2 separate regions of the Homo sapiens genome follow, and region 1 is linked to region 2. The links are contacts of gene promoters, found by promoter capture Hi-C in human tissues and cell types (Jung and others, 2019). All regions are on one chromosome and are shown on one strand. Each heading gives the region's core, a stretch centred on a gene start or on the middle of the fragment in contact. The rest is flanking DNA. Distances are from core to core; before and after follow the strand shown.

Evidence for each region. The method cuts DNA at HindIII sites, captures the fragments that hold promoters and counts their contacts. A contact is called where the count stands out against the background at its distance.
Region 1: a contact is called between a fragment that was not itself captured here and the fragment with the promoter of PROKR2 in region 2, in 4 of the 25 tissues and cell types used here (H1 embryonic stem cells, IMR-90 fibroblasts, aorta and 1 more).

Annotation. Positions count from the first base shown.
Region 1 is chr20:5,408,565-5,412,763 of GRCh38, forward strand. No RefSeq gene overlaps it. Among named protein-coding and RNA genes, the nearest start is that of LINC00658, 35 kb to the right of the region's middle. The HindIII fragment of the contact is 4,719 bases long and covers 74-4,199 here.
Region 2 is chr20:5,314,807-5,319,272 of GRCh38, forward strand. It overlaps PROKR2 (prokineticin receptor 2), which reads right to left and starts at 2,148. Exons shown (of 3, transcript NM_144773.4): 1 at 1,688-2,148. The HindIII fragment of the contact is 13,355 bases long and covers 1-4,466 here.

The DNA of each region.
Region 1 (4,199 bases), core at 1,183-3,682, 94 kb after region 2:
CTGGTGCCAGGAAGCCTTCCTGTTATCCAGATCAAACTTCTTGCTCTTGGCCCAAGCTCCTCAGGAGGTATTTGGACTTCCCATACCTCTTGGCTACAGAGAACAAATGAATGCAGTGGCATTCTGCCCTGAGAGGTCAGCCCCCGTCGTCTTAGTTAGCGTGAGTCCCATTCCCAAGTCCCATCACCTCTGGGACAATGAGAAGATCAAATTTCTGAGCTGACAGCAAGGAAATGGCCCCTCATGGAAAGCTGTCTGAGAGGCCAACAGACTTTTCCCAGACCAATACCATAGTCATAATCATTCTTAGTGAACTCAGACCCTGTAGTGGAGCCAACCAGGCAGATAACAGGGATTATAGGGAATTCCCGGGAAAGAGGGGTCCAGACAAAGACATAGCCAAGAAATGACAATGAAAATCCATATGGACTGGGATGTCACTGAGTGGGCAGGTGTCTCAGTGGTTGAGGTCAGCATGGTAGCCTTTGAGGGTGTCTAAGTGGGAAAATAAACCCAAAGTGTTTTTCCATTCTCTCACTCAACAACAATCAACACAGAAGACTTCTGTGACCAAATGTGTGGATTCTTTCCCCATTCAGTAAGCAACCAATTCTGCAGTAGACACTGGCTGAATTTCCTCTGATTCAATTCTGACACTATCTACCTGGAAATAGCATCACATCCCACAGGTTGAGGGCTCAGTTCTACAAAACTGCCTTCCACTTCCAATGCCAACAGCAAGCCCCAGGCTGTTTTTACCTGTGCCTGTGACTGACTGGCTATAAATCATGGTTCTCACCACCCCTACCCTCTCCTTGGCTTCAATTCATTTGCTAGAGCAGCTCACGGAACTCAGGGAAATACCAGATTTTTAAGATACAGATGAAGAGATGCATAGGGAGGGTGATAGGAGAGGTGCAGGGCTTCCATGCCCTCCAGATAGAGCTTGTAGGACCCCACCAGGAACTTCCATATGTTCAGCTATCTGGAAGCTCCTGAAACCCCATCCTTTAGGGTTTTAATGGAAGCTTCATTACATAGGCATGATTGATTAAACCATTGGCCATTGGTGATCAACTTAACCTTCAGTTCCTCTTCCCTCCCCAGAGGTTTGGGATTCCCATACAGCTGAAAATTCAAGCTCTCTAACCCTGCTTTGGTTTCCCAGTGACCAGTGACCAACCCCACCCTGAATCTATGTTAGGGGCTGCCAGCCACCAGTCAATCATTAGCATACAAAAACCATCACTTTGGGGAGATTCGAAGGATTTTAGGAGTTGTATGCCAGAAAAGGAGGTTGAAGACCAAATATGTGTTTTACAATATCACGCTGTGTCAGCGTGGAACTGAGCATTAAAAGATGAAGGAGCTTGAGTTTTTAATGGGGCAGGACCAAATAAGGAAAAGTAGGCACATTTATTTTGAAGGGATTAACCAATCTTATTCTGTGTTTTAGAAACAGTCTAATGCAAGAAACCAAAACGCAACTGAGCTCATTTAAATAAAGAAATGTCAGGCTGGGCGCCATGGGGCTCATGCCTGTAATCCTAGCACTTTGGGAGGCCGAGGTGGGTGGATCACCCAAGGTCAGGAGTTTGAGACTAGCCTGGCCAACATGGTGAAACCCCATCTCTACTACAAAGTACAAAATTAGCCGGGCGTGGTAATGTGCACCTGTAATCCCAGCTACTCAGGAGGCTGAGGCAGGAGAATCTCTTGATCCTGGGAGGCAGAGGTTGCAGTGACACTGAAAGAGGAAGGAGGTTGCATAAACACATCAAAGCCATTTCTTTATAAGTGATTTGAGGTCAGTGATTTTTGCTAATACTTGTGGGAGCATAATGAAGCAAAAGCATGATTAACTTGCTGATATTCAATGACTCTTCACTGAAGCTCAAGTTTATATGCATTTATGAAAGAGTCATGAACACTTTTCCTTATTTTATTTTATTTTTATTTTTGCAGACCTCTGGAGAGCAGATTAGGATATCAAAGTGTAACAGAAAGCAGAAAAAAGTTTAACTGAAAGATGAAAAACTTTAGATGCATTAGTGCTATGGCAAACAGCCAGATCACTCCAATTATGTCCCTAATTGGGTCCATAAATAATTTATAACCCACCATTTGTGTCTGGGGCAAAGGATTTCTAACAGTAAATGCTTAAGTAGTGGTTAGAGGGACCTAATGATTTCCAATTCTGAACTCATCAGAACTCCTCTAGGCTGTGATTCCAACAGCCCTTCTTGAAGTAATTTGGTGGGGATTACTCAAGTATGGGGAGAAATTGTCTTCAGTGTCTAGGTGAAACAGACTGTCAGAGAAGTAATGAGCTCACCTCCCTTTGCTGCTAACCTTGCCACTGGCTTTCATTTAAGGTCAAGAGCCAAAGCCATGAAAATCAGAAATAAAAGGGGGAGCAAAGCTTCCAGAGGCCCTATGATTAGTAGTAGGATTTCTCTCATTTCTTCATGAGAAGCTGGAGGTAATTTCTACTGCCTAAGAGTCTGCACTAATTGTTTTAGGTATTTGTATGTTGCCTGTTAATTTTCACAGCTTCTCCACATCTTGTTTTTCTTTTAATGTTTTAGTTGAAGTATAATAACATATATACAGTACAGTGGATGAAGTGCACACATCTTAAGTACAGAGCTCAATGAGTGTTTTGCAGATGGGTTTTTTTCACGTAGCTAACACCCAGACTGAGATGTAAAACATTCCATATCCCCCAAAAGGTGCTTCTGTTCCTTCCCAGGGTGTGTGTCTCTTGGAGGAGAAACCCGGAGGATGAAGCAAAGCCCTTGAGGCTTGGCTACTTTAGGATTCATGTGCTGTCTGCTGCAAGAAGACATTGAACAAGTGAGAGCAACATCTCAGCATTTCTGAGCAGACCATTTAAAAACTCAAATGCAGCAGAGGGTGCTTGCGAGTGAGATCTGTGTGGGCCTGCAATAGGAGAAGGTCTTGTTCACTTCCTGCCAAAAGCAGTGAAGGTTTACAGGGCCCCTTCTTCTGTGTCCCCATCCAGGGAAGCCACAGCAGCTCTATCCGTGAGCTCCTTCAAAGGTTCTACAATCCCTGGAAGGTACTTGCATGACACAGGACAAGCAACAGACTGAAAGTTTGGTTTGGCCAAGGGACACCTGGAGGTCATCTGCTATTGGTCACTTCTGAAGAAGAATGAGGCTGAGGCTCCCTCAGAGGGCCTAATTTGTCAAGGCCGGTACCAGCAATGAACATGCCTGGCCGGGGTGGAAGCCCCAGTTTTCCTTTTACACATAGCTTTTAACCCCCAGGGGAGGGATAGCTGGTAGCTCATACTTGCTGTACATTTATTAAGTGCTGGGTACTACGATGAACACTTCACATCAATAGTCTCATTAATCTGTAACTTGCATTGACCAATTTCTCCATTTTAGAAATAATGAAACAGAGGGAAAGACACAGTTAGTAAAAGACGGCCTCAGACTCCAGACCCTGGCAATCCTGTTCCAGGGCCTCTGAGCTTCCCCACACTGCCCCCCACTCCCACTTCCCAGACAGAGCTTCTGGGGATCCCATGTACACTCAGCACCCGACACTCGCAGTGGCACTGGCCTCTGGGCTGGGAAAAGAAACACAATTCACTCGACTTATGATTTAATTAAATTTCTGAACCATGGCAGCAGATCTATACTTCATAAATTAAACCCTCATTTCCTAGAGGCAAAAAGTTATGAATTGGTGTTCTGTTCCTGGAAATTCATTTTATTTCGTAAAAACCTAAAAGTTGATCATGAAAATAAAACAAGATATACAACACGCACACATATACACACAGAGATTTATTAAGTAGAAAAAAACAAGTAATATGAAAACCAAATGTTATAAATGTTAAATTGGGTGGACTTTTCTGCAAGGGCTGGATGACTAGAGTGTCTTAAAACATGAGTTAAATGAGATTTAGATTGAAAATGCCTTCCACATTTTTGAGTAAAATTTCTAAGGAACAAAAATAGGCAATTTTCATTGTACCAAGGACTTTTGAAGTAAGGTGAAAATCGGGGGTACTGTTCTAAAAAATGTTCATGGCATGAAGGCACCTGAATCTCTGGGTAGTGTACTACTGCTTTGATCATTTCTTCTGCTCTGTTAAAAGTTGCCAAATGACTGTAAGTATGAGTTTGGTCATTACAGTGGGGGTCTTATGATGAGAAAGACTG
Region 2 (4,466 bases), core at 898-3,397:
CTCCCACAGGGGCTTCTGGAACATTTCCAAGGATGCTCCCATGAGCTGGCCAGGCTCCTACAGCTGTCACAACGTTGTGGCACCTGTTGGCCAGGGACAATGAAGCAGGAGGGCCAGGATGCTGCGGGGTCTTCTCTCCAAAGCAGGACACCACTCCTTCTGTACTGACCAAGCCATAGACTTGGAAATCACCAAGTTCACTTTCACATGGACAGACTGAGTCACCCTGGGCCAGTGATTTATGCTCTCTGAGTCCTAATCTTCCTGTAAACCAAATTCCTGCTGCCCAGTCCAGTGCCTGGTGCATAGTGGGGGCTAGACAGACATCTGTTGAGTGCATGACCAGGGCGCTGTAGGTGGAGGAGGTGGTGGTGGGGTGGGGGAGGGGAATTCCCCTGCTGCTCCCCGTTCTGTGGGAACCAGCTCCAGAAAGAAATCCTCTGCCGCCCTTCCCACCCTACTCCAACTTTGGATCTGCTCTCTGACCTCCTTCACTTGGCCCTAGTTCTCCACCCAGAGTCAACCCTGCCTGAAAGGCACCATGTCCTGTCACCAAGGTCTCAAAATAGGGAAAATAGTCTCTGAAGCCCTCAGCCCGCAGGAGATAGGGCACCCCAGGGTACAAGGCTTCACCGAGGGGCTGGAAAAAGAGCCCAGATCCCAACACCTATAGAAAGGGGCCCTGGCTGTCCAGCTGTGAGTGGCCTTCCCCTCGCCTCTCAGCACACCTGGAAACGACTCCACATGTGGGCGCCGCGGGATGCTGGGTAGCAAGGAGATGACCCAGCTGAACAATGCATTTGGTCCACTCCTGCGAGGGGAGGAGAACGCCGAGGGACAGGAACTGCGCGCCAGCAAAAGACACCCTAACCTGGGGTGCGCCCGCCAGCTGCTTTCCCAAGGTGAAAACCTCCAAGAGGCGAGATGCAAATCCCAGTGGCGTCCACACCCGGAGGTGTCTTCTCTCCAGGTCGCCCCTCCGTCTCATGCGACACCCCAATCCCCGCAGCCTCTGCTCAGCGTGGGACCAAGAATGGGGAGTCCTACCCCTCCTCGGCTTTCCAGCCCCCTAACCCAAGACAAGAGGGCGCGCGCCCGGGCTGGGACAGGTCCCAGCCGCATTTTCGTAGATTGCACTCCCCGCCCGGGAGCGACCCGTTCCAGCAGCCCCCTTCCCGCCCCATCAACGCGGCCGCACTGTCGGCGTCTAGAGGCGACATCCTGGCAAAGACAGGAATCAAGTCAGAAATTCAGGCTCTAGAAGCAAAGGCTGCGGTGCCTCCTGGCTGGAAGAAAACGGCGGGTGGGTGGAGGATGCGGTGCGCGGGAATTTCCCCACGGACGCTTGCTGTTTCCTGCTCACCTTTCAGGAAGGTGCCCCTCTACCTGCACCCTCCCCTGCAATTTGGAGCTCGTCCGCGAGCTCAGCTACCCGCTGGCTCCCTCTGCCCGCGCCCGCACACCACAGACTCCGCTTACCGTACCCTACCCGGTCCTAGAGGGCCCAGAGGGGATCTCCTGAAACCAACTCGCCTGCTTGGAGCCAGCCCCGACGCATATCTCGAGAGTGGCGGGAGGCAAAGCAGCCGGAATGCCCGAGAAAAAAGTGGGCGTCAGAGGCCCTTGTCCTAGCGACTCCCCCACCGCACCGACTGAGTCCCGGGACTGCAGGGATCTAAGCCCTTACCTGTCTCGGCGCCTCCTTTCTGTGCGCTCTGCTGCTCCGGAAGCCGGATCGAGAGTCACAGTGTGGTTGGGCGCAGGCGGGCCGCTCGGTTTTCACCTCGAGGACCCGGACTTGCACTTGCAGAGCCGCTGCGTGGGGGATGTCCCTCTTTTTTCCTCGCCCCGGCGGGCTCCTCCGGCGTGTCAGGGTCTCTGGGTTCCAGCTGGAGTTGGCGCTCCGGCCCCACAGCTCTTTCCAGCGTCTCGGACCTGTGCGCCCCGCCCCGCGCTGGACTCCGCCCCGGGGTCCCCGCCTGCCTCCTAGTCCAGGCCAAGGGTGGATGCCCAGCTCCCCCACCCCACCGCGTGCTCTCGGGCTGGTGCGTCCAGGGCGCGGGCACCGTAGCTCCGGCCGCGCTGACGCGAGTCCCCGGCAGCGGGGGCAGCCTCTCGCACGGATTTCAGCGCCTTCGCATCCCGTCTGAATCGGACCACACAGTAGCCGGGTTTCTACCGTGCGCTTGGGAACAGTGAGCACCGCCCTCTGCCGCCAGTCGTGGCACCGCACCCGGGTCGCGCGCGCAGGAGGGGAGAGTCCTGTCTTCCGGAGGTGCCCAGTGCCAGCGTCCGCGCCCACTAGAAGGTGACCCTTTCAAGGAAAGCCCGGCTCCGACGAGTGCGGTGTGGGCCTTTGGAGATGGCGGTGAAGGAGGAGGCCCCCAGGAGGAAGCTGGGGATGGGGACAGTTTGCTCTGCTCAAAGCCCCTGAAGTCCTCACCCAAACTTTGCGATGACCACCACTATCAGATTCCATGGCCGTATAAAGACAATCCCAGGAGTGCCTCAGCCCATCTGTCCGGAGAGTCTGGAGCCCTTCACTTTGCTTCTGACAGGTTCGAAATCCTCCCACGACCTTCCTGGTTAAACACAGGAACTGCCCATTCAAATGACTGGTGCCCAGGAAGCTCTGGGCATACAGGATTGAACCTGTGGCAGGACCCTGAAGGTCTAAAAAGGTGTTCCCCATCGTTAAACCCCAGCCAGCGGATTATTGGCAGGTGGGAACATGGACTCCACTTTGTCAGAGCTTCCCATTGTTTTCAAGAGAATCTGGAATTCGAGAACTTTAAAAATAGTCTTTGGGTTCGTTAAAGCAAAAATCTTGTTTTGGTCAAAGAGAACCTGTCTCAGACTGAACACAGTCCACAAGGCTGCCAATTAAAAATTTTTGGATAAATGAACTTCAAACTCCTTCAGGTTGTGACATTCTGTGATTCTGCTTTTCCCACCTTACCTGGAACCTGACCCCACTCTCCCTACCTCTTAGCATCTCTCCCGCATGATCAAAGGCAAGAGAGCCAGCTGTTTGCTTTCCTCCTGGGGAGGGGCTGCGATTGGGCAGGTGTTCTACATGCTCAGGGCAACTTCCAGATATGGAGGCAAAAAAGCTCTGTTGCTTGAGTGGGGGAGATGATGGGGTGGCCAGTTGTACGCCCTGGACACATTCTTTGCAATAGTGCATACTTACCAACTTCAGCTAGAGGCTTCTTCGCTCATGGACCATGCCTGCCCTATTCAATGGGGGCAAACAGACCCCTGGGACCATCTGCCCGCTGGTGCTTTCATGGAATCCTCTGAGATGAGTTAAGGCATGGTTGCTTCCACACAGATCTGGCGACCCACAGATGTCGCTGTAGTAACTCCAAGTCCTGACCACCCTCAGCAGAGTAGGAGCTTTTTCTGGGGATGGACATGTGGTCCCCAGGGAGACAGTGGGTGCTTAGAAAACAGTGCAACAGAGTGCTACGGGGAGTTGTCTTAGTTTAGGTTTCCCCCAAGGAGACTCCCAGACAAAGACCTGAGTGCAGGTAGTTTATTGGGAGCAGATCCCGGGAAGCACACACAGGGGGAGGGGAAGTGAGGCAGGGAAGGGAGAAGGGCCCATACACGATATGCTAACGAGCAGGGTGCCACTGCGGCTCACTCCAGTTGACCTGCAGACCGTGTAGAACATGCCTCATGGTTGTTCACAGCAGCGCGGGGAGGCTGGACATTCAGCCATCGATTCCTACCCCCTACTGATGGACAGATTCCCTGAGAGCCAGAATTTCCCTCACTTTTGAGTTGTGTCCCGGTGTGGTGCAGAAAGCCCAAGGCTGAAAAGAAGAGAGCTTCAGGCCTTGGATGGGAGGTGTCATGGTGCCTGGAACTGCATCTGCAGGTGAGCAGAGGAGATTCTGGGCAGGCCGTCACTCTCACATCTGCTACAGGAGGGCAGCAGAGGGGACATTGCCTTTGATGAGGCGGGCAGGAGCCATACTTCTGCTGGAGTTCATAGACTGAACTGGGTGTGAACCCAGAGAAACTGGGTGGGCTGAGTGGGATTTTGAGAGGGGCTGGAGACTTTGCATTATATACTTGGAGGCAACTTACATCCCCACTTGGGCTCACAAAGCTGGCAAGAACTGGGGAAATGGAGATGACTTCCCCTTCTAGTCAAAGAGATTTCTCTAATTGCAAGTCCAAAGTCTCTTCTTGTCTCTGAAAGAGTTTTCTGTCTGAAGTCTTTCTGGGTGAGGGAGGCTTAGCTGAACTACATGATAAAGTGCTGAGGGAGGGGAAAAGGGAAAGGGGAGGAAAGAAAATCCATGCAGGCAGGAGTTGCTGCAGAGCCTCAGGGGAGGCATTATCTACAAACAACTGGATGTGAGGAAAATGGATGAGGTAAGGATACTTTGATACAGAGCCAGAAGATTATATGTTTGAATCCACTCAAGAGACACGAATAATAAAAATTTAAC